7 separate regions of the Homo sapiens genome follow, and all the other regions are linked to region 3. The links are contacts of gene promoters, found by promoter capture Hi-C in blood cells and fetal thymus (Javierre and others, 2016). All regions are on one chromosome and are shown on one strand. The core of a region is centred on a gene start or on the middle of the fragment in contact, and the rest is flanking DNA. Distances in the headings are between cores, read along the strand shown. Region 1 overlaps ZNF585A (zinc finger protein 585A). Region 2 has its middle 4.2 kb from the start of ZNF875. Region 3 holds the start of ZNF227 (zinc finger protein 227). Region 4 overlaps ZNF569 (zinc finger protein 569). Region 5 overlaps ZNF383 (zinc finger protein 383). Region 6 overlaps ZNF585B (zinc finger protein 585B). Region 7 overlaps ZNF585B (zinc finger protein 585B).

What was found. The method cuts DNA at HindIII sites, captures the fragments that hold promoters and counts their contacts. A CHiCAGO score of 5 or more calls a contact.
Region 1: a fragment that was not itself captured here is called in contact with the fragment with the promoter of ZNF227 in region 3 in 2 of 17 cell types (total CD4 T cells and non-activated CD4 T cells); the score reaches 7.3 in total CD4 T cells.
Region 2: a contact is called between a fragment that was not itself captured here and the fragment with the promoter of ZNF227 in region 3, in 1 of 17 cell types (non-activated CD4 T cells). The highest score is 6.4, in non-activated CD4 T cells.
Region 4: a fragment that was not itself captured here is called in contact with the fragment with the promoter of ZNF227 in region 3 in 2 of 17 cell types (non-activated CD4 T cells and total CD4 T cells); the score reaches 12.6 in non-activated CD4 T cells.
Region 5: a fragment that was not itself captured here is called in contact with the fragment with the promoter of ZNF227 in region 3 in 8 of 17 cell types (activated CD4 T cells, total B cells, total CD4 T cells and 5 more); the score reaches 14.1 in activated CD4 T cells.
Region 6: a contact is called between a fragment that was not itself captured here and the fragment with the promoter of ZNF227 in region 3, in 3 of 17 cell types (total CD4 T cells, total B cells and total CD8 T cells). The highest score is 12.8, in total CD4 T cells.
Region 7: a contact is called between a fragment that was not itself captured here and the fragment with the promoter of ZNF227 in region 3, in 2 of 17 cell types (total CD4 T cells and total B cells). The highest score is 9.8, in total CD4 T cells.

What each region holds. Positions count from the first base shown.
Region 1 is chr19:37,162,772-37,166,073 of GRCh38, reverse strand. All of the region lies in intron 2 of ZNF585A (zinc finger protein 585A), which reads left to right. Among named protein-coding and RNA genes, the nearest start is that of ZNF585A, 8.3 kb to the left of the region's middle. The HindIII fragment of the contact is 9,329 bases long and covers 1-3,302 here.
Region 2 is chr19:37,328,618-37,332,330 of GRCh38, reverse strand. It overlaps a transcript of ZNF875 not described here. Among named protein-coding and RNA genes, the nearest start is that of ZNF875, 4.2 kb to the left of the region's middle. The HindIII fragment of the contact is 7,336 bases long and covers 1-3,713 here.
Region 3 is chr19:44,211,107-44,214,464 of GRCh38, reverse strand. It overlaps ZNF227 (zinc finger protein 227), which reads right to left and starts at 1,933. Exons shown (of 6, transcript NM_182490.3): 1 at 1,880-1,933; 2 at 1,221-1,375. The HindIII fragment of the contact is 5,683 bases long and covers 1-2,857 here.
Region 4 is chr19:37,457,886-37,461,737 of GRCh38, reverse strand. The region is part of intron 2 of ZNF569 (zinc finger protein 569); the gene reads left to right. Among named protein-coding and RNA genes, the nearest start is that of ZNF569, 7.6 kb to the left of the region's middle. The HindIII fragment of the contact is 7,320 bases long and covers 1-3,852 here.
Region 5 is chr19:37,221,066-37,224,898 of GRCh38, reverse strand. ZNF383 (zinc finger protein 383) reads right to left here. Exons shown (of 6, transcript NM_001387601.1): 2 at 1-81. Among named protein-coding and RNA genes, the nearest start is that of ZNF383, 4.8 kb to the right of the region's middle. The HindIII fragment of the contact is 239 bases long and covers 1,701-1,939 here.
Region 6 is chr19:37,204,560-37,208,001 of GRCh38, reverse strand. ZNF585B (zinc finger protein 585B) reads left to right here. Exons shown (of 5, transcript NM_152279.4): 2 at 748-962. The coding sequence starts at 891. Among named protein-coding and RNA genes, the nearest start is that of ZNF585B, 4.3 kb to the left of the region's middle. The HindIII fragment of the contact is 4,710 bases long and covers 1-3,442 here.
Region 7 is chr19:37,179,051-37,182,569 of GRCh38, reverse strand. ZNF585B (zinc finger protein 585B) reads left to right here. Exons shown (of 5, transcript NM_152279.4): 5 at 1-991. Among named protein-coding and RNA genes, the nearest start is that of ZNF585A, 8.1 kb to the right of the region's middle. The HindIII fragment of the contact is 2,530 bases long and covers 93-2,622 here.

The DNA of each region.
Region 1 (3,302 bases), core at 139-2,638, 7.0 Mb after region 3:
CCACTGCATTCCAGCCTGGGCGACGGAGCAAGACTGAAAAAAAGACAAAAGAATGTAACAAAACAGGAGAAACAGTTAGTTCCGTACCTAAGATTCAAACAATCATGAATGAATATTATACAAAATCATGCCAAAAATATGAAAGTATAAATAAAAGGATAAAAGTTTACAAAAAATAGATATAATTGGTAAGAATTTAAATGGTTCAAAGTCCTTGAAGAAATTAAAATGTTGATTCAGCATTTCCAACACAGTAAAAAATAATGGAAAGGTCATGCATTTTTATAGTTGGTCATTATGCTGAAGTTTTGGGTAAAGAATAATATTTAAAATTATTCTCAACCTTGCTTTTGGTTTTTGTTTTATTTTGTTTACAGTGTTAACCTTGATGCCTGAAAGAACTGGAAATTATGAAGATAGATTCAGAAGTCAAATATGTTAACTAACTGCATTGAAGAGTAGAAGAAAACAATAGCCTAGTAGGTTTTTACTGGGATTAGTGAAACAACTGCTATGTTCTCAGCAACCCACTCCAAAGCCAAAGTCAAAACTAAAATTGTAAAATATCTCAAAAACAATAAAAATGGTATATATATATCAGAAGCTCTGGTATATAGCAAAACTGTACTAAAAATAATTTAGAAAAATAATTTATCTCATGCAAATGAATAAAAAAATCTAAATGAAAAGGATGAATTTCTTTTTTTTTTTTTTTGAGACATAGTCTTGCTCTGTAGTCAGGCTAGAGTGTAGTGATGTGATCTTGGCTCTGCAACCTCCGCCTCCCGGGTTCAAGCAATTCTCCTGCCTCAGCCCAGCGAGTAGCTGGGAGTACAGGCGTGCGCCACCACGCCCAGCTAATTATTTTGTATTTTTTTAGTAGACACGGGGTTTCACCATGTTGGCCAGGATGGTCTCAACTTTGACCTCGTGATCCACCCGCCTCAGCCTCCCAAAGTGTTGGGATTACAGGCATGAGCCACCGCACCCAGCTGAAAAGGATGAATTTCTAGAACATTAACTACCCCACCAAATCTTTAAATACCATTTACCACATTTTATTTCTAGGTTTTAAGATTTTCATTTTTTAACTTTACTTTTGGCCATATGTGGTGGCTCACACTTGTAATTCCAGCACTTTGGGAGACTGAGGCGGGAGGATTGCTTGAGCCCATGAGTTTGAGACCAGCCTGCACAACATAGTGAGACCCTGTCTCTACAACAAAAACCAAAATTAACTGAGTGTGGTGGTGGGGCACCTGTGATACCAGCTACTTGGGAGGCTGAGATTGGAGGACGGCTTGAGCCTGTCAAGGCTGCAGTGAGCCACGACATTGCCACTACATCCAGCCTAGGTGACAGTGACACCCTGTCTTGAAAACAAAAGCAAAAAACTTCAATAAGATTAGGATTGCAGCATTGGAGAAATTTACTTTTCGAGAGATTATTACGGGTATTTCTTTGTTTTTTGTTTTGTTTTGGGATTGTTGTATAGGCACTTGAAAAGAAAAAAATTTGATAGCTTATCAATAAGATATATAGCTATGAGGTTTCTATAGTATTACTCATTTTTTTCTACTTTGTCTCAAGTTGCTGAGAGATATTATTAAAGTTTCCCACCACAAATGTATTTCTATCTATATTTTCCTATAGTTCTTTTTTTTTTAATTTGAGACAGTGTCTTGCTGTGTCGCCCCGGCTGGAGTGCAGTGGTGCAATCTCGGCTCACTGCAAGCTCCGCCTCCCGGGTCCACGCCATTCTCCTGCCTCAGCCTCCCGAGTAGCTGGGACTACAGGCGCCCGCCACCACGCCCTGCTAATTTTTTGTATTTTTGGTAGAGACTAGCCAGGATGGTCTCGATCTCCCGACCTCGTGATCCACCCGCTTCGGCCTCCCAAAGTGCTGGGATTATAGGCATGAGCCACCACGCCCGGCCTTTTTCCTATAGTTTTTGTTTATAAATTTTGATGTTATGTAGTTTGGTGCACAGATAGTAAATACGGCATCCGAAACTCATTTCACATTGTGTCCTTGTTTAATATTTTTTCCCCTGCAATTCAGCCCTATCTAATATTAAGGAGGAGGCTCTTATTTCTTTTCTGTTGGCAACTCCAGATATGCCTTTGGTCATCTTTTTAATGTCATCCTTTGGAGTTCTTGTGCTTTTTTGTGTGTGTGTGTGGAAAGATGCATTTTATGTTATGCTTCTGATGTGGCTATTTTATAAATCTTTCACTATATACTCTATATTTGTGCTTTGTTTCTGTGTGTCTTCCATGTAATTTGGAATGTTTGGATTCTTTTTTGTTTTTGTGTGTGTGTGTGTGTGTGTGTCATCTTTATGATGTTAACTTCTTGAACTAAATATTCGAATCTACTCTTTAAGACAGTATTTATTAAATTTGTACTGTGAATAATGATAACAGTTCTACACTGCCAATTCAAGGATTCTTTTGTTCATTGGATGTTTTTATTAAACTCCTCTTATTTTCTTTAAAAAATATCTTTATTTCCGTCTCATGTTGCTCACTTGCCTTAATCTGCTCTTTGCCACCTTTTGTGTTTTTGCAGGGTCTTCTCATTTTTTTCAGGGAGACTTTTATTTTTGTGTTGCTTTTTTTTTTTTTACTTTTTTACTGAGTTCTGTTAATTTATTTTTCAGAAATTTATATCACTATATTCTTAATCTGTTTTTCCCTAAGCAGTTAATTGTTTTAGTAAATTCCTTGAATTCATGGAGGTTATGATTTCTTCTGTTGTATGTCAATTTATTTCTAGTGTATTCTTCTTAATCTCCTCTCTTTTTTTTTTCATCCTTTTACTCATAGCATCTTTGTACATCAGGAGATGTTTATTGTCTTTGAATGAGGAGATTTCTTCCTGACAAACTGTTTGTATAAGATCATTTGGTGAGGTGTCAAAACTCCATTCTAGCCTAACATGACATTGTCTTGATTCCCCATTAAATTTTTTGATGACATTAGTTTTGGGGGCTGGGGGTTCAGTGTGTGTAGGGCATGAATATGCAAGTGTGTGATGAAGAGAAAACTAGAGCATGCGTCTTCATTTCAGGTATATAGGGAACTTTTTTTTTGGTTTAAGTTTATAGGTACAAGGGCAGGTTTGTTATATAGGTTAACTTGTGTCATGGGGGTTTATTGTATAGACTTTTATCACCCAGGTATTAAGCCTAGTACCCATTAGTTATTTTTTCTGATCCTTTCCCTCCTTTCACCCTCCACTTTCCAAAAGGCCCCAGTGTGTGTTGTTCCCTTCTTTGTGTCCCTGTGTTCTCATCATT
Region 2 (3,713 bases), core at 752-3,251, 6.9 Mb after region 3:
TAAGGTGGGACGAGAGATTTGGAAAAGAAAAAGACACAGAGACAAAGTATAGAGAAAGAAATAAGGGGACCCGGGGAACCAGCGTTCAGCATATGGAGGATCCCGCCAGCCTCTGAGTTCCCTTAGTATTTATTGATCATCTGTGGGTGTTTCTCGAAGAGGCGGATGTGTCAGGGTCACAAGACAATTGTGGGGAGAGGGTCAGCAGACAAACACGTGAACAAAGGTCTTTGCATCATAGACAATGTAAAGGATTAAGTGCTGTGCTTTTAGATATGCATACACATAAACATCTCAATGCTTTACAAAGCAGTATTGCTGCCCGCAGGTCCCACCTCCAGCCCTAAGGCGGTTTTTCCCTATCTCAGTAGATGGAGCATACAATCGGGTTTTATACCGAGACATTCCATTGCCCAGGGACGGGCAGGAGACAGATGCCTTCCTCTTGTCTCAACTGCAAGAGGCATTCCTTCCTCTTTTACTAATCCTCCTCAGCACAGACCCTTTACGGGTGTCGGGCTGGGGGTGTCGGGCTGGGGGACGGTCAGGTCTTTCCCTTCCCACGAGGCCATCTTTCAGACTATCACATGGGGAGAAACCTTGGACAATACCTGGCTTTCCTAGGCAGAGGTCCCTGCGGCCTTCTGCAGTTTTTGTGTCCCTGGGTACTTGAGATTAGGGAGTGGTGATGACTCTTAAGGAGCATGCTGCCTTCAAGCATCTGTTTAACAAAGCACATCTTGCACCGCCCTTAATCCATTTAACTCTGAGTTGACACAGCACATGTTTCAGAGAGCACGGGGTTGGGGGTAAGGTTATAGATTAACAGAATCTCAAGGCAGAAGAATTTTTCTTAGTACATAACAAAATGGAGTCTCCTATGTCTACTTCTTTCTACACAGACACAGTAACAATCTGATCTCTCTTGCTTTTCCCCACATGGGCGTGGTGGCCACTGCCTGTAATCCAGCTACTTGGGAGGGTGAGGCAGGAGAATCACTTGAACCCAGGAGGCAGAAGTTGCAGTGAGCCAAGATTGTGCCATTGCACTCCAGCCTTGGCAACAAGAGCGAGACTCTCAAAAAAAAAAAAAAAAAAAGCAAGGAGTTATTAGCTCTATACACTTTTTTTTTTTTTTTTTTTTGAGACAGAGTCTCACTCTGTCGCCCAGGCTGGAGTGCAGTGGTGCCATCTCGGCTCACTGCAAGCTCCGCCTCCCAGGTTCACGCCATTCTCCTGTCTCAGCCTCCCGAGTAGCTGGGACTACAGGCGCCTGCCACCTCGCCTGGCTAATTTTTTTGTATTTTTAGTAGAGATCGGGTTTCACCATGTTAGCCAGGATGGTCTCGATCTCCTGACCTCGTGATCCACCCGCCTCAGCCTCCCAAACGCTGGGATTACAGGCGTGAGCCACCACGCCCAGCCAAGCTCTATATACATTTATAGAAGAAACTTCTAATTTGAAAAACTCAAAGTTTTAAGTAACAATGATCACAAAAGGGGAAGAACAAACTTCCAGAATCTTGGGGACAGAGGGTGGTGTGGTGGGAAGAGAGGGAATTACTCTGTCACCAATGAGTCAAAAAAGTTATTAAAGATTAATTTTAAATGAATAAAACTAAAAACCAAGACTTACAGAATGAGACTAAAACCATGGCTGGAGGAAAACTTTTAGCCTGAAAGTAGCCTATGACTTAGAAATTAAGGCAGAAAACTAAGGAGTAAGCAGTTACCCTTCAGGTTAGAAAACCAACAGAATAACAGGAAATGAGAGAGGGAGGAAATAATCAGATGGGGCTGAGATGGGGGCTTATGGGGATGAAGGAGGCAGGAAGAGCACATTAAGTCTGTGCATAAAGTCACTCCCTAAGGACAGTCCCTGAGAGGAAAGTGGGTGCACAAGGATCAGGCTAGGTGTAAAAGGTGACAGGCAACCCTGGAGGGTACATTCAAGGGTTGACAGTGGCTAAGAAAACAGGAGGGAAAGTCAAGTGTTGAGCCTTTCCTGTCCCTAGCATGGAAGACATCAGGAGCTGATGAGTGAAAGTGATAAACACCATTCTCATCACCAAAAAAAGTCAAGTATTTGAGGTAATGGATAGGATAATTTGACTTAAACATTCCACACTGTATGGAAAAATCATAACATCATTTTGTACCCCATAAATATATACAATTTAAAAGATAGGTAAAAATCAGAAAAAAATTGAAAAAATATTCTTTATTTTTCAAACATATATAATTTATGGAGTACAATCTAATTCATCAATGTATATGATTTTTTTTAATGGTAAGTCAATAAACACAGCAAACAGTCCCTTGAGAGGCAGAGAAGGAAAATGGGCACAATCTGCCCTTAGAAAGACACAGCATTTAAATCCACGCATGTGAGAACTCCAGGATTCAAGACTAGGGGTCAAAACACAACCTGGTTTATCACCTATAGCCACAGGATGGCACCAACACCCACTGCTCCAGCCTGAGCTGGCCAGAGAGAGAGAGCATCCAGGAAAAGCTGGAACCTCCCAGAAGGCCTGAGACCTGCAGGTACCACACTGTAGTCCACTGAAGAGGAGGGCCCAATGTGAGGGGGAAAAAACCACTGAGGAAACATAATATTTGTGTATTTTTAATAAGATATTTAATACGTGTTCAGGTAGAAGTAGGTACAATGACAGAAAATAAGGTAGAGGAATGTGCTAGACACCACAGATACGTAATGATGGACAATAAATGACATGATGTGGAGAGTTCACCCACACATGCAGACTTCTTATGTTCACATAAACATTTATCTGCATGCATCACCCAGTAGAGACAAACTGCACTTACACTGTGAAGTCAACGAGGAGATAAAGTAAAAATCAAATACTTATGGAGAGAGTCAGTCTCTCCATTTAGTGGGAAACCCTTCAGAACACGCACACAGCATCTCCCCTCCCTTCTGAATACCATCCATAGCCTGCAGCAGTAGATGGCAAATCACAGCCTGGGCCACCCTTCCCAGAATGTCAAAAACATGGACATGCAGACCACAGAATTCACCAGATACCCAAGCTGGGTGGTGCGAGGCTCTGAAAGACATGCTTCAAATAAGAGGGACTAGAAAACTCCGCAAGGGAGCAACAGGGATCAGGGATTCCAGGAGGATCCAGGGGCCTGTGCGAAGAGCAAGCAGTGAGCAGATGTGTGTGTCAGTGATTCGGTGGCATGAACTCAACACCATCTAATACAGCAGCTCACGTTTCTTTGTGCATCAGACTCACCTGGGGACTTGTTAAACACAGATTGTTGGGTCTCACTCCTAGAGTTTCTTCTTCAGTATTCTGGGGAGCAGCCTGTGAATCTGTATTTCCAGCATGATTTTCAGGTGCTACTGATACTATTGGTCCAAGGACCACACTATGATCTAATTTAACATCAGATTAGGGGAGGAACTAAGGAGCAAAGAAGCAACAGAATGGACCTGAACCCTGTACGGGCTTCTCTGTAAACTCCTCAAACATAAAAGCCTTCGAGACACTCAAAGAGCATTTACAGCATCATGTCTACAAATACAAGGCACCACGCAGGGAGTGCTCCATCAAGTAGAGAGAAGAGCTCACTGAGTGTCCCTGTCTTAGTCTGTTTGTGTTGCTATAACAGAATACCACAGACTGGGTGATTTATAAGGGTTCACTTGGTTTATGGTTCTGAACACTGGGAAAGTGAGG
Region 3 (3,358 bases), core at 684-3,183:
GGAGGTTGCAGTGAGCTGAGATCACGCCACTGCACTCCAGCCTGGGCAACAAGAGTGAATCTCCATCTCACAAAAAAAAAGAAAAAAAAAGAAAAAAGAAAATTTTCATAATAAGAAAAAAACTACTACACAGAATACCAAACCTATTTTGAGAAACATCCATAGCATATACTAAAGGGAAACACATTAAAGTGTTAGCAGTTTTATTATAAGTAATTTAAGTTTTCTGAATATAACATCACTGTCCAATAGAAATATACTGAGACACATAAATAATTTTAAATTTTCTAGCAGTAACATATAAAAAAGGCAAAAAAACAAAAACAAAAATAGGTGAAGTTAATTTCAACAACATAATTTAAGCCAATGTATCCAAAATATTACCATTTTGACATATAATACAAAAAATTATCAATGAGCCATCTTACATTTTTTGTACAAAGTTTTTGAAATCCAGTGTGTATTTAACACTTACAGCACATCTCAATTTGGACTAGACACATTTCAAGTGCTCCTAGGGCACACATGGCTTATAGCTACTGGATTGGATAGTGCATCTCTATAATGAGCATTCATTACTTCTATAACTAGAATATGACATATTTTGACATGGAATGAAATTAAGTAAGTGAGATGTTGCAGGATTTTTCTAAAAAATTCAAAATTCATCAGTGCAGTTTTTGAGGTCTTCCACAGTAAAATCCATACCTACATTCCCAAGGCTGATTTCCAACGACTCACCGGTAGCCATATGGATTACTATTTAAGATAACTGAAGACGACTGTATCATTGAGATTAAGACCACAGACTCAGAAAAAGGAATAGAAAATAAACAACAACAAAAACCAAAGAAACAAAAACAAACAAAAAAGATCACACAGTCTGAAAAGGAATGCTTGGGTTCAATCCCAAATCCACCTCTTACTATCAGTTGAATAACTTCGGGAAAGTATTTAATAACATAAACTCTGCCTAATTTCCTCATAACAAAATAACAAGACCTACTTCATCAATAGCTATGGTCCACAGACGAATGCCTTAAAATCAAAGTGGTAAGATGTTATTGGTAATACTCATTTCCAAGTAGTTTTCCTACCCACTCTCACATTTATTCAACAAATATTTCATCATTTTTCAGTAGTAACTTACTGAGTGACGGAAACTTGATTAACTGAAAGGACAGAAAATGGAACAACAAAGTGCGTTCAAGAGCAGGTACCTGGGGCTATGCTGGGAGAAGCCAAGAAGTCCCTCCTTCCTCCTCTTTGCAAATTCGGAGGCGGTGAATAAAAGGATGCTGTCAGCACGATGGAGTCTCTATCCCGGATAAACGGCGGTAAACATCCCCACGCATTGGAGCCCGATGACTCAATCCTTCTTAAAAAAAAAAAAGATCTGTAAAAGTTCGGGAAGAGCTCGGTCTCCTGAAGGATACGACAGAAAGGCCATGGCATAAAGCCCTGACTTTTCTTCTCTCTTCACTGGAGCTTCCAGTAAAAAGGGCGCTTGTGAGGGAATCACTGTATCAATAGCAGGAGCCAACCCAGTATCAGGTGCCACCACTGTTCTAAGGTTTGACCCGTATTATCTTGTTTAATTCTAATTACAACCCTACACAGTAACGACTATCTTTATTGCTATTTTAAAGATGAGGAAACAGGAGCGCGGATCATAGGTAACTCGCTGTTTATTATACCCACAGAACTAGCGGCGCTGCTTGCCAAGTGCGGGAGGAGAGCAAACTTCCCGCCCTCGGCCTCTCGGCCTCCGCCGCGGCCGCGACCTCTCCATCCCAAGACTGATGGCTGGGGAGCGCCTATTCCCAAGCACAGGCTGAAAAGGTTCAAGAGGGGTCGTGGGGGTGCAGGGCTGACTCACCTCCCGGACCCAAAAGATGGTGGCGGCCTCGCTTTCCGGGGCGGAAGTGGCTCTGCCTGCCCAGAGCTCCTGAACTACCCTTCCCAGAAGGCCCGCGCTCCTGCGGCCCAATTGTTTCCGGACAGAGTTCTGGAATACGTTTCCCAGAACTTCCAGAAGGAAAAACCATCCAGGTGCCGCCCTCTTCGCGCTTGAAAAAAAAAAAAACAAAAAAAAAAACGGAGCGAGCGAGTGAGAGAGGGTTACGGAGAGTGTGACAAAATTCTCGGAGCTCCCGGACTACAACATCCAGAATCCTCTTCACGGCTTATTGCTGTTTAGCCAGGCTGAAGCAGTTCTCTGATGTCAGTGGAATTTAGGTTTTTCTTATTAACAAAAAGTAACAGCAAATATGTGAAGAATTGGAGCCCTAAAATAAAAAAAGACTCCCAGCACTTTGGGAGGCCGAGGCGGGCGGATCACGAGGTCAGGAGTTCCAGACCAGCTTGGCCAATATGATGAAGCCCCGTCTCTACTAAAAATATAAAAATTAGCCGGGCGTGGTGGCGCGCGCCTGTAGTCCCAGCTACTTGGGAGGCTGAGGCATAAGAATCGCTTGAACCCTGGAGGGTGCAGTGAGCCAAGATCGTGCCACTGCACTCCAGCCTGGGCGACAGAGTGAGACTCTGTCTCAAAAAAAAAAAAAAGAAAAAAAAAACTATTATAAGAAACAGATCACGTGATCCTGTACTAATAGAATTATACCCACCACTTCCAAAAAAAAAAAAAAAAAGGGCAGAGGAAACCCTTTAAGTTTTTACATTTAACAGGATCGACTAATAGAAAAACTACTCTTTAGATACTAAAAGAATGAAAGAGCAATCAAAAAATGCAACGAAGGCAGAATATATTATGGATTTCCACTTTTCTTAATAGCACAGTCATATAATTCAGAACAACTTGCTTACTGAGGATAGCTAGACATAGAAAACACAAGCTTTGGCATATGGTAGATCAACTCCACAAAGCAACTAGGGCCTCTGTAATCATTCCTCAAGGAGTTTCTGAATTTGAAAGATGAACAAATTTATTACTTCAGTGTTTAAACCTTGATCTTTATTTGCTTAAATGTATAATGGAATTGATGTTTCCAAGAATTGAGGGTTGAAAGAAGAGAGCAATACCTAAAAATATCCACATATCTACTACAGTACATGTTTGCAGTTCTCATTTACTAAATATATATTCTTTATTCTGTTATATACAACTATCTCTTATAAAGAACCAAGTATGTGCCAGGAACTAGTTCAAACTATTCAGACTATGGGACCCTCACTACATTTTCACAACTTTTTTCTTTTTTTTTTTGTTCTGTTTTGTTGTTGTTGTTGTTGTTGTTGTTGTTAGACAGAGTTTGGCTCTTTTGCCCAGGCTGGAGTGAAGTGGCATGACCTCGGCTCATTGCAACCTCCGCCCTCACACAAGGTTCAAGCAAGTCTC
Region 4 (3,852 bases), core at 261-2,760, 6.8 Mb after region 3:
TGGAAAAGTGAGGATAGGAAGAGAGTGAAGGACAGTAAAAAATTAGTAGAATCAAGGAATGGAAGCTCCTGACAGGGCTGAAGGACTATTGGGTTGTAATATTAGAGGAAGTAAGGTGAGACATAGAAGGATGGGCTGGGCATGGTGGCTCATGCCTGTAATCCCAGCACTTTGGGAGGCCATAGTGGGCACATTGCGAGATCAAGAGATCAAGACCATCCTGACCAACATGGTGAAACCCTGTCTCTACTAAAAATACAAAAATTCGCTGGGCATGATGGCGCACACCTGTAGTCCCAGCTACTCTGGAGCCTGAGGCAGGAGAATCGCTTGAACCCAGGAGGCGGAAGTTGCAGTGAGCCAAGATCACGCCATTGTACTCCAGCCTGACAGAGTGAGACTCTGTCAAAAAAAAAAAAAAAAAGAGGATATTTTTCATATGTTTTAAAAATAGAACAGTTCTTCTTACCACTATACCGGTTTTAGAAAACATGGATGATTACTAACTAGACCCATTATTTCAGTAAGGGCTACAAAATGGCGATATTCTAATTCTGTCATTACTTCGTTTACTAGCTAGAATATTTTCCTAAAGAAAAAATTTTCCTCGTCAACTCTTTGTTCACCCTTAGGTACAGTTTGTACAGAAAAGGCAGAATAAATGGATTATTTCCCTTTATATGATTTTGAGTTATTGGAGTGGTTCCCTGGCATCTCCTAGTGGGTTGTTTTTATTATTATCACCATTATATATTCATCATTTTTAGCATATTTGATGTGTTTTAAATCACTGCACTTATTTTCTTTTTGAAGCTCAAATTTTTTTGTTAAGTGTTTGCTTGGGTGCAACCTTTGACTATCTCCCAGAATTTCTGAAAATCTGGTTCAGACAGGTTTTGCCTTTTGTTTGTTTTTTTCATTTCTAGGGAAGGATAGGCCACCAGTCTCATCCCTTGACTTTTTTTTTTTTTTGAGACAGGGTATCACTGTATTGCCCAGGCTAGAGTGCAGTGACTATTCACAGATGCAGTCATGGCACACTGCAGCTTTGAACTCCTATGTTCAAGCAAACTTCTGCCTCAGCCCCTGCAAATAGCTTGGACTACAGGTGCACGCTACCACGCCTAGCTTCATCTCTTTACTTGTAACTTGAATGTTAAAGTGGGTTTCTTATAGACATATATAGTTGTTTTTTTTTTTTTAAATGCACTCTGACAATCTGTCTTCTAATTGCTGTGTTTGGACCATTTACACTTGGTGTGATTATTTTTGTAGTTGGATTAACATCTACCATTGGCCAGGCGTGGTGGCTCATGCGTGTAATCCCAGCACTTTGGGAGGCCAAGGCAGGCGAATCACCTGAGGTCAGGAGTTTAGGACCAACCTGGCCAACATGGTGAAACCCTGTCTCTACTAAAAATACAAAAATTAGCCAGGCATAGTGGTGCATGCCTGTAATCCCAGTTGAGGCTGAGGCAGGAGAATTGCTTGAACCCAGGAGACAGAGATTGCAGTCAGCCAAGATCGTTCCACTGCACTCCAGCCTGGGCTGGAGTCTCCAGTGAAACTCTGTCTCAAAAACAAACAAACAAACAAAAAAACACTACCATCTTCCTAGCTCACTACCATCTTCCTAGCTGTTTTCCATTTGCTTCGTATGCAAATAGAAAATTTTTTTATTTCTTTGTTTTGTTTCTTCTCTTCTCCCCTCCTTTGTCTGATTACTACGGTTTTCATTGAGCATTTTATATTATTTCATTTTATCTCCTGTTTACTTTATCATTTATACTTCTTTTAAAAAATTTTAGTGTCACCCTAGAGTTTTCAATGTGTATTTTTAAGTAATCTAAATTCACTTTTGAAAATGCTATACTGCTTCATATGTAGTGCAGGAACTTTACAACAGTATTCCCAGTTCCCCCTTCTTCTCCGTTGTTATGTCACTTGTGATGTCCCTGTCATTCATTTCACTTATCCGTGTGCTGTAATCACCTAATACATTGTTATCATTATAGCCTTTAACAAACATTTATCTTTTAGATCAATTACTAATAAAAGAACCAAAAGATTTTATCTTACCTTCATGATTTTGTCTCTGGTGCTCTTCCTTTCTTTATGTAAATCCATGTTTCTGACCTATATTGTTTTTCTTCTGCCTAAATAACTTTTTAACATTTCTTACAGGGTAGGTCTGCTGGTGATGAATTCCCTTAGTTTTTGTTAGAAATGAAAGTCTTCATTTCTCCTTCAACTTTGAAGGATAATTTCCCTGGATAGAGAGAATTCTAGGTTGGTGGCTCTTTTTCATTTAATGCTTTAGATATTTCACACCACTTTCTTCTTGTTTATATAGTTTCTGACAAGAAGTCTGCTGTAATTTTTATCAGTGTTGTTTTATAGGTAAGGTGTTACTTTTCTCTGGGTTCCTTGACTATCTTTTCTTTGTTTTTTTTTGTTGTTGTTTTTTCAGTTTCAATATGATATACACGTGTGGTTTTTTTTGGTATTTATCTTGCTTAGTGTTCTTTGCGCTTCCTCAGCCTATGGTTTGGTGTGTGTCACTAATTTGAAACATTCATGGACATTATTACTTACAATATTTCATCTGTGTTCTCTTTTTTCTCCTTTTGGTTTTCTAATTGGGAAAATAGATGTCTGTTTAATAGATACATGTTTTGATATTGTCCCATGGTTTGGATGTTCTCCCATGGTTTGGATGTTCTCTTTTGTTTTTCATTCTTTTTCCTCTGTGCATTTTAGTTTGGGAAGTTTCTTTTGAAGTTTCTATTTTCAGGTTCACTGATTGTTTCCTCTACTGTGTTGAGTTTGTTGATGAGTCCATTGAAGGCATTCTTTGTTTTTATTAATATGTTTTTGATTTCTAGCATTTCTTTTGATTCTTTCTTATAGTTCGCATTTCCCTGCTTACAGTACCCATCTCTTTTTCTAACTTTCTCATAGAGCACTCAAAATATTAATCATAGTTATTTTAAATTCATTGCACAAAATTACTGCACATCTTTTCTTATATAGGTTGTGCTGGGCCATGAAACATCAAACCATATGACCAGTCCCTGCCATAAGTGGTTCACAGTCCTACTTAGATAAATCAGTGGGTGCACTGGCAGAGTGATAAATGCCACAAGATGGTTAAGCTCATGAGATACAGAAGTACAAATAGATCTACATAGACGGATATCCCAATCAAATGATAAAGTTGTTCTTAATCTGATCTCTTTAAGAACAAGAAGGTATTGGTCAAAGGCAAGAAGGAACTGATGATCAGCAATCAAGAGATAGTTTTTAGGCATGGAAACGTAATATACAGTAACTGTTAAGGAGCAATGCTTTGTATATTTTAAGAAAGGTATGTAATTATGTATGGCTGGAGTTTACTTTCAAGGAGTGAAAGATGAAGCTAATGAGGTATTCAGAAACAAAATTATAAAAGTTGTCATTGAAGTAATTTAAGGTAATACTCATGTAACAAACAAGCACATGTACCCCTTGAATCTAAAATAAAATACACTTTTTAAAAAGGACTCCATAAAGAATATAAAAATATCAGGCTGGGCATGGTGGCTCAGGCCTATAATCCTAGCACTTTGGGAGGCCAAGGTGGGCAGATCACTTGAGCCCAAGTGTTCAAGACCAGCCTGGGCAACATGGCAAAACCCCATCTTTACCAAAAATATCAAAATTAACCAGGCATGGTTGTGCATGCCTGTGGTCCCAGCTACTTGGGAGGCTGAGATGGGAGAATCACTTGAATCTCGGAGATGAAGCCTGCAGCGAGCCATGCGCTCCTCCAGCTTGGGCAACAGAGCGAGACTCTGTCTCCAAAAAAAAAGA
Region 5 (3,833 bases), core at 571-3,070, 7.0 Mb after region 3:
CTTGAACCCGGAAAGCAGAGGCTGCAGTGAGCTGAGATCATGCCACTGCACTCCAGCTTGGGCAACAGAGTGAGACTCCGTCTAAAAAAAAAAAAACAAAGATTAAGATGGTAAATTTTACATTGTCTTTTATACCACAATTAAAATGAAAACAAAATCATTGAAAAAAAAAAAAAAGCTAGCTGGGCATGGTGGCACATTGTCTGTAGTCCCAGCTACCCGGGAGGCTGTGATGGGACAATCACCTGAGCCTGGAAGGTCGAGTTTGCAGTGAGCTGTGACTGCACCACTGCACTCCAGCCTGGGTGACAGAGTGAGAGGCCCGTCTCTCAAAAAAAGAAAAAAACAAAAAACCAGAAAAATCTACATGTTCAATGAAGTATAAAAAGGGACCCAGTATAATGATCAGTGGCTCAGATTCCAATGAGCTTATTTTGTGGAACCAAGTCCCAGGTACCAAACACTAATTAATTAATTGAGCCCTCAGCCTTTAAGTTAAGTCTGTGGTTGGTTTAATTTTCCTCTTATCAGATATTGGCAATTTTTGTGTTACTTCATATTTTAAGTTTTGTTAGAGATTTATTAATTTTATTAATTCCCAAAAATAAGCTTTTGCCTTTGTTAGTTTTCTTCACTGTACATTCATTTTGTATTTCAATATATGTTCGTTATGTACAGCAAAACACGTACACCTTAAATATATGCAATACCAAATAAACTAAAAATTTTATATTTGGGCTTTTATTCTTATTATTTCCTAGATTTTAATTTTGGGGGTTTAACTTTCTAGACTTTTCCTTAGCTTCTTGAGATGAATACATAGATCATTAATTTTTCAACATTAATTTTTTTCTTTTTTTTTTCTGAGATGGAGCCTCACTCTGCCGCCCAGGCTGGAGTGCAGTGGCGCGATCTTGGCTCACTGCAACCTCTGCCTCCCAGGTTCAAGCAACTCTCTGCCTCAGCCTCCTGAGTAGCTGAGATTACAGGTGCCCGCCACCATACCTGGCTACTTTTTTTTGTATTTTTAGTAGAGATGGGGTTTCACCATCTTGGCCAGGCTAGTCTTGAACTCCTGACCTCGTGATCCACCAGCCTGGGCCTCCCAAAGTGCTGGGATTACAGGTGTGAGCCACTGCGCCCGGCCAACATTCATTTTTTTCTAACATATGCATTTACAGCTATATATTTTCCTCATATTCAGCTTTAGAAACATAATTTTGGTATGTTATTTTTCATTATCACTCAGTTTAAAATATTTTAAATATCTATCACAATTTATTCTTTGAGTCACCAGTTATTTATAAATACATTGCTTAAATCCCAAACATTGGGATATTTCTTTAATTTTTGTTTTTTTAAATTTAGAAATGGGGTCTTGCTATATTGCCCAGGGTGGCCTAAAACTTCTGGGTTCAAGCAATCCTCCTGCCTCGGTTTCCTAAAGTGCTGGGATTACAGGCATGAGTCACCACACCTGGCTGGGATATTTCCAATTATCTTCTTGTTATTGACTTCTAGCTTAACCTACTGTGGTCAGGAAAGTTACAGTATTATTTCATTCCTTTGAAATTTATTGAGACTCCCTTTGTGGCCCAGCATATGATCAATTTGGATAAATGTCTCATATGCATTTGAAAAGCAAGTATATTATGTAGTTGTAAGGTACACTGTTCTATACATATCAATCAGGTCAAGCTTGTCAATCACACTGTTCAAATACCATATAGCTTTATTGGGTTTGTCACTTGTTCTGTCAGCTATTGAGAAGAGTGCTAAAAACTCCCCACTAAGATTGTGATTTATCTACTACTTCTTTTAGTTATGTCAAATATATTTGAAGCCATTTTATGAAGGCATATAAATTCAGAACTGTTATATCTTACTGGTGAATTGATCTTTTTATTATAAACTATTCCTCTTTATCTCTAGTAAAGCTTCTTGTTGTAAAATCTATTCTTGTCATAAAGTCTACACTGCAGTTTGGAATATAGATTGATACCACTATTTCAGAAAACTGTCAGTATCTATTAGAGCTGAACATATACAGAAACCATGACCCAGCAATTTCACTCCTAGAAATACACCCAAGACAAATGCATTCATATGTGCACCAAAAGACATGTAAAAGAATGTTCCCGGCAGCGTTTTTCATAACAGCCTCAATATGAAATCAAATGCCAATCAGTAATGGAATGGATAAGTAAAATGTGTTATATTCGGCCGGGCACGGTGGCTCACACCTGTAATCCCACCACTTTGGGAGGCCGAGGCGGGCGGATCACCTGAGGTCAGGAGTTTGAGACCAGCCTGGCTAACATGGTGAAACCCCGTTTGTATTAAAAATACAAAAAATTAGCTGGGTGTGGTGGCGTGCGCCTGTAATCTCAGCTACTTGAGAGGCTGAGGCAGGAGAATCGCTTGAACCCAGGAGGTGGAGGTTGTGGTGAGCAGAGATGGTGCCATTGTACTCCACCTTGGGCAACAAGAGCGAAACTGTCTCAAAAACAAAAAAAAGTGTTATATTCATACAACAGAATTTTAAACAGCAATAATAATGTGTTCACTATATTCATTATATCACCTATAACTAACGTGCAGCAACATGGATGAATTTTATATATTTATACTACATATTATTACAGAATACATTCATATTACATACGAAATACAATATTGAGCAAAAGAAGCCAAGCATCATCTCCAAGTGAAACTGACAGTAGGAAAAAAAAAGTGAAAAAAAAAGAAGCCAAGCAAAATTCAAGTATAGGTAAAATTAGTCTATGGCTATAGAAGACAAACTATTAGTTCTCTTTAGGAGAAGTGGGTAGTGAGTGAACTGGACAAGACTTGGGCTTCTGTAATGCCAGTTATGTTTTATTTCCTTATCAGATTTGAGATCTGGTCAAAGGAATATGCTTTTTCTTTTTTTTTTTTTTTTTTGAGACAGAGTCTCGCTCTGTCGGCCAGGCTGGAGTGCGGTGGCACAATCTTGGCTCATTGCAAGCTCCACCTCCCGGGTTCACACAATTCTCCCGCCTCAGCTTCCCAAGTAGCTGGGACTATAGGCGGCCGCCACCATGCCCGGCTAATTTTTTGTATTTTTTTTTTTTTTTTAAGTAGAGACGGGGTTTCACCGTAGCCAGATGGTCTTGATCTCCTGACCTCATGATCTGCCTGCCTTGGCCTCCCAAAGTGCTGGGATTACAGGCACGAGCCACCGCGCCCAGCCCGGAATATGCTCACTTTTATACAAGTCATCAGGTCATATACCTTGATTTTGTACTTTTCAGAATGTATGGTATATATATATATTTGAGACAGGGTCTTGCCCTGTTGCCCAGGATGGAAGGCAGTGGTGCAATCGCAGCTCACTGCAGCCTCAACCTCCCTAGGTTCAAACAATCCTCCCACCTTATCCCCTGAATACCTGGGACAATAGCAGCATGTAACCATGCCTGGTTAATTTTTGTACTTTTTGTAGAGATGGGGTTTCACCATCTTGCCCAGGCTTGTCTCAAACTCCTGGGCTCAAGCAATCTGCCCAGTAGGCCTCCCAAAGTGCTGGGATTACAGGCATGAGTCACCATGCCTGGCCCCAGAATGTATGTTATACTTTTAAAACAACATGATATATCATGGTATCAGCAGATTCATTAAAGATTAGAATACCAAATGACCATGTGTTAGAATACAAGATGACTATAATGTTTATAAGCTGTCGGTAGGAATTTAATTTATAAAACTATATTGTAGATCAGTTCAGCATTATCTAGGAAATTTAAAGATGCAAAACATACTGTATGGCCCAGCAATTCCTTCATACACTTATA
Region 6 (3,442 bases), core at 372-2,871, 7.0 Mb after region 3:
ACCCCATCTTAAAAGAAAAAAATATTGTGTGAGGTGGAGATCTAGTTTGTTTTATTCCAGATGCATGGCCAATTGCATGCACCAATTGGGGATATGTATACAATGAATGCCGTGTGCACACTCAATCGCATATCATTTTTATTTCATATATAGATCAACATTGTCTGATATGTTTATTATCTTACTTGTTTTGATGACATGGTTTTCTGTATTACGTTTTAATATAGTGCATGGTAATTGCTGATATTTATTGCGTGATTCTTGCATGGCAGGGAGGCATTGAGTACTTTAAAAGCATAATCTCATTTAATCTTAGTAACTGTGACACAGGCATTTTCATCCTTATTTCTGAAACAAAATCTGAGTAACTTCTTTATATTCTCATTGTTGAAAAGTGGTACAGCTGCAGTTCAAATCTGCAGTAATGTTACTCTAAATTTCATGGCTTTTCCCATATTTCAGCACTGTTCTCCACAGTTCTGAAAGTGTGGTTCTTGTACCAGCAGCATCAGCATTTCCTGGGCACTTATTAGAAAATAAAATTCTTAGGGCCTACCTTAGACCCATCGAAGGGGTGAAGTTGAGAATTTTAAACTATGTTTTAACAAGCCCTCCAGGTGACTTGAATGCATACCTACGTTTGGGAACCACTGCTCTGGTTTCTAGCGCAGGGACCTGCACCTTGGTGTATCCAGGAAGTGTTTATGTAGTGAATGTTGAATGACTACGTGGACATTGTTTTTCTAGGTTCTTGGGTGTCTCTGGGGAGTCCCTGGGCCAGACCTTCCTCCAGACTCCAGCCCACCTCTTCGGAGCAGCTCTGCTGAGTTCACAGATGACCACTAAACTTCAGGCACCCTAGACAAAAAGGGTTGAGATCCAGTGTGGCCATGCCAGCTAGTTGGACCTCACCCCAGAAATCCTCAGCCCTGGCTCCAGAGGATCATGGCAGCTCCTATGAGGTGAGGAGGAGGAGTCCCAAGGGGTGGAATTTCAGTCCAAGAGTAGATAGCTCTAATCTGTCACCACAGCCTTAGGGCAGAGGCAGACAGGCCTTAGGAACCAGCTGGACTCTAGACTTGGTGCTCCTGAAAGAAAACTTGATCTTCCTGTCAAGAATGAACACGTGGGTAATGTCTCCGTCTCTGGAGGCCACCTGTGTGACAGTGGAGAGGTGCACTGTCAAGGAAAACTGTTGTTGATTTTGTCATCACGCTATATTGATGTTTTGGCTGCAAATAGAATTCCTTGTTAGAAGTGACTTTTGTTTGAGATTTTGAAAGCATTTTTTCATTTCTTCCTAAACCACCTCCTCAAACACAAATGTTTTCTCTGTTTTCTTTCTGAAACTTGTTTTTCAGATGTTGCTTCTCCATTTCTTTTCTCTACTATTTTCTATGTATTTCCTGCTATCCATTCTGGGTAACTTTGACACCTTTTGCCTTCCAGCCCTTCTATTGAGCTTCTCATTACCACTATCCACATTTTAACTTAATGTTTTAATTTTTAAAAACTCTAGTTTGTTTCCTAAAATTTTTTTTTTTTTTTTTGAAACAGAGTTTTGCTCTCATTGCCCAGGCTGGAGTACAATGGCATGATCTCGGCTCACTGCAACCTCCGCCTCCTGGGTTCAAGAGATTCTCCTGCCTCAGCCTCTCAAATAGCTGGGACTACAGGCATGTGCCACCTCGTTCGGCTAATTTTGTATTTTTAGTAGAGACGGGGTTTCTCCGTGTTGATCAGGCTGATCTCGAACTCCTGATCTCAGGTGATCTGCCCACCTCAGCCTCCCAAAGTGCTGGGATTACAGGCATGAGCCACTGTTCCCAGCCTGTTTCCTAAATTTTTTTTTATTGCCATCCCGTTCTTATTTCATGGATGTAATGTTATTTTTTAAATTATTTATTTATTTATTTATTTATTGATGGAGTTTTGCTCTTGTTGCCTAGGCTGGAGTGCAATGGCATGATCTCCGCTCACTGCAACCTCTGCCATCCAGGTTCAAGCAATTCTCCTGCCCCAGCCTCCTGAGTAGCTGAGATTACAGGTGCGAGCCACCACGCCTGGCTAATTTTTGTATTTTTAGTAGAGATGGTGTTTCACCATCTGGGCCACGCTGGTCTCGAACTCCTGACCCTCAGGTGATCCACCTGCTTCGGCCTCCCAAAGTGCTGGGATTACAGGTGTGAGACACCATGCCCGGCCTGGGTGTATTGTTATTTCTTATCCATCTGAAGATATTGTGATAATTTATTAGGAATAGTTTAATCTTTTGAATAGGCAATGCATATACCTAGTTCAAAAGTTAGAAATATATGAAAAGCAATATATTGAAAAGTATTATGGTGAAAGAGATGGGACTGTGGTTCACCCACCTCTGCCTTCCATCTACCTGTGTCTCCCGGTAGTGATAACCTGCTTTATTCATTTTCTTTGATTGCTTAGTTCTGTATACAAATGAAAACAACTACAATTTTTTTCTCTTGATTTCAGAATGGCATAGCAGATTAACTTTTTTGTACATTGCTGTTTTAATGTTTGTTTGGTAAAATACAGAAACTATTATGAACAATATCGCAGTGGATATTGTCATGCCTTCTCTTTCTATTGGATATATTAGAAGTAGTGGAATTTCATTTCAGGGTTCTAGTCACGTGGTGAGAGTCTCATCTGCACCTCAGTGAACCTCTACTTTAGTTGCTCTTGGGCAGTTTTAGGATTGAGTATCTTAATAATTTTATTCTAGAAGATAGGAAGGATAGCTTGAGGCTAAAGTTACAGTTGGTAAAGCAGCAGCAGTTGGCTGGGCACGGTCGTTCACACCTGTAATCCCAACACTGGAAAGCCAGGGTGGGAGGATGGCTTGAGGCCAGAAGTTCAAGACCAGCCCTGGCAATGTAGTGATTCCCTGTCACTACCAAAAAAAAAATTTAATTAAATTAAAAATTAGTTTGGGCCTGGTGCGGTAGCTCACACTTATAATCCCAGCACTTTGGGAGGCTGAGGCAGGCAGATTGCCTGAGGTCAGGAGTTCGAGACCAGCCTAGCCAACATGGTGACGCCCCGTCTCTACTAAAAATAAAAAATATTTGTCAGGCATGGTGGCGTACGCCTGTAATCCCAGCTACTCAGGAGGCTGAGGCAGGAGAATCGCTTGAACCTAGGAGGCAGAGGTTGCAGGGAGCTGAGATTGCACCACTGCACTCCAGTCTGGGTGACAGAGTGAGCCTCTGTCTCAAAAAAAAAAAAAAGAAAAACAATTAGTCTGGCATGGTGCTGTGTGCCTATAGACCCACCTGCTCGGGAGGCTGAGGCAGGAGGATCACTTGAGCCTAAGAGTTCGAGATTACACCTAGCTATGAGCATGCCACTGCACTCCAGCCTGGATGAAAGAGATAGACTTTGTCTCAAAAGAAAAAAGCAGCAGTCTCTTGCATTAGGC
Region 7 (3,519 bases), core at 108-2,607, 7.0 Mb after region 3:
CTGATGGCCCATCACATGCTGCTCAACATCTTAGACCAATGTCTGCTCACCCATTACCTCCCTTCACCTCATCCAGCACTGTATCTGAAGCTTCACTATTCTTCCTTCAGTTTTGGATATTTTGTGATACAACATTATCCCCAACTTAGGACAATGTCAGCTGACTCTCAGGAGGGTGCCTGGAGATCACCTCTTCCTTCCTAACATACCCTAGAACAAGGTCTGGTCCCCTTCATTATTCCCATTTTACCTTACTCCTAAGTGTATCACTCCTCATGAATTCCAGGAAATATGGAGGAAAACACATTTCACTGTACATGACTTTCAATAATTTCTCCTTTATATTTATTGTAACGTGATATTTTAGTGCTGACATATATATGTATATGTATGCCCATTTATATAAAAGACTAGTTTTTAGAGAAATTTTAGGTTCACAGCAAAATGGGGCAGAAGGTACAGAGATTTCCCATATATCCCCTACCCTCACATATACACAGCCTCCCCCATCATCAACATCCCCCTTCAGAGTGGTACATTTGTTACAATTGATGAAACTACATTGACACTATCGGCCAAAGTCCATGGTTTAATTAGGGTTCAGTCTTGATGTGCATTCTGTGGGTTGAGACAAATGAATAATGACATGTATGCATTATTACAGAAGGATAAAGAGCCGTTTCACTGTCCCAATAATCCTCTGTGTTTCGCCTACTCCTCTAAACTCCTGGCTATTTTCTTTTGTCTCCATAATTTTGCCTCTGAACCATAAAGTATGCAGCCTTTTCAGATTGATTTGTTTCACTTAGTAATGTGGATTTAAGTTTCTTCCATGTCTTTTCGTAGCTTGCTAGCTCTTTTTTTTTTTTTTTTCTCATTGAATAATATGCTATTGTCTGGAAGTACCATGACTTATTTATCCATTCACCTACTGAAGGACACCTTAATTGCTTCCAAGTTTTGTTGATTATGAATAAAGATGCTATAAACACCTGTGTGCAGGTTTTTGTGTGAACATGACTGTAATATTTTAAGGTCGTATTTATTGAGGTATAATTTACATACAGTAATATTCACCCTTTTTAGTGTGGAATTCTCAAAGTTTTGACAATTACATCATGCAGTCAATACCACAGTCAAGACAGAGAACAGTTCCCTCACTTCCCTACATTTCCTCCTATTACTTTTTAGTCCATCCCTTTGCCCACCCCCAGGCCTTGATGATCACAAGCCCATTTTCTGTCTGTATAATTTTGCCTTTTCCACATGTTGTATAAATGGAGACATCCTGTGTGTGTCTCTGTCTGTTTATATATGTGTATGTATCTCTCTTTTTGAGTCGGACTTGTTTCATTTAATGTGATGTATTTGCGATCTATCCATATTGTTATATGAGATAAAAATGGAAAATAAGGTGATGAAAAGATGCTCGACATCTTTAATTTTCAAGAAAATGAAAATGAAAACCACAATGAGATACCTGTACACACCTTTTAGCATGCCTAAAAATAAAGACATAATGCTGAGAGTTGGCAACAATGCAGAGCAATGGAAACTTTCATGCATTGTTGGTAGAAATGTAAAATGTTACATTCACTTTGGGCAAAAAGTTTGGCAGCTTTTTTTTTTTTTTTTGAGATGAAGTTTTGCTCTTATTGCTCAGGCTGAAGTGCAATGGCATGATCTCGGCTCCCCACAACCTCCACCTCCCAGGTTCAAGCGTTTCTCGTGCATCAGCCGCCCAAGTAGCTGGGATTACAGGCATGCACCACCACGCCTGGCTAATTTTATATGTTTTTAGTAGAGGTTTAGTTAAGGGTCTCTCCATGTTGGTCAGGCTGGTCTCGAACTCCTGGTCTCAGGTGATCTGCCCGCCTCAGCCTCCCAAAATGCTGGGATTACAGGCGTGAGCCACCATGCCCAGCCTTGACAGCTTCTTATACTGTTAAACATACACTTATCATATGACCCACCAATCCCTCTCCTAGGTATTTGCCCTAGATAAGTGAAAAATTGTTTATATAAAAACACGGGTACTCAAATTTCACAGCAACTGTATAATTGCCAAAATTAGGAAACAACCCAAATGTAACAGTGGGTGACTAATTAAACAGTGGGTGACTAATTAAACATCTATACAATAGAATACTACCCCAACATGAAAAGAAGTGATTTATTGACACTGGCTGCAACATGGATGAATCTCAGAAGTACTCTTTTATTTTACTATGTGATAGTTTAAATGACATTTGAAAAATTATTAGATACTAGATTATAAATATAGATTTATGTATTTTATTTTATGTGTGCATATCATACACTGTATATTGTGTTGACAGTATGTTATAGCACATTATGATATTATACCTACTACAAAATAGTTTCCATTTTATATAATATATAGTATCGTATGATTATATAATTTTTATATTTTATATATCAAACTTTCATGTAACATTTTAGTTATTTCTACTTTTACATAATCACATTTAATGTTTATAGTATAAAGTTATAACTATAATAACGGGTCATAGGGTTCAGACAGCCTGCAGTTGGAGGTGGTCAATATTTTTATTGTTTGTCAAGAATCCCAATTCTGGCTGATTTAGCACCAAGGAAGCTTTCTCCAGCTTTGGGCTTTTGCACCAACTGTGTTCTCTGGGCATACACTGCTTCCCCAGTGCCCATGCATCTTGCTTTCTTCCCCCATCTTTGAAAAGCATCCACCCCACCATTTGTATCTGAAGTAACACATCCATTGGGGTCACTTTCTGCTGTATTATTTTGTATATATTTGTGTTGCAGGCATCACCATCTGATTTGATATTAAATATTTCTTTTTTTTTGGTTTTTCATCCAACCTTTCCACTAGACCTCATGAGACCTGGACTTGGTCTGTCTTGTTTCTGCTGTGTCCAAGGCACCCAACATGGTGCCAGCACAAAGCAGACATTCAGTACAAGCTTGTTAAATGTGTTAATGAATGAACAAACGAATGAACGGATGAATAATAACAATAGTATTGACATTGACCAAATGCCCCACACACATTGGCTAAATGCGTGGGAGGTGGTAGGGTTGGTTCCAGGTCCTCTAATTCAAAATCTAATGCCCCACCCCATGCTTCAGCATATCCCAGCCCTAATTCCATGTGCGGGTGGTGCCCAACCACCCTGCTACCCTCCTCCCAAGTATCCTACCTACATCCTTCCCTGGCATTCCACAAGGTCTCCCAACTCAGCCTCCTCTTGGTCACAGTGGCATACCATGTCGGTGGAGGACAGTCGTAAGGGACCCAGTGGCAGAGGTCTATTACCATTGGCATCCACCCTAGTACTTTCAATCCCGTTCCCCATCATCAGTGCCATATGCTCCACCCCATTCACTGGAGCAGCCACCAGCAAATATGGAACCTAGGGAACAAGAGGAATGTGGCAGGGCTGAGGGTTCTGGGTCTCAGGCACTTAATTGGAAAATGAACGTGATGCGGTGTGGCAGAAGATGACCCCGTGACCAAAG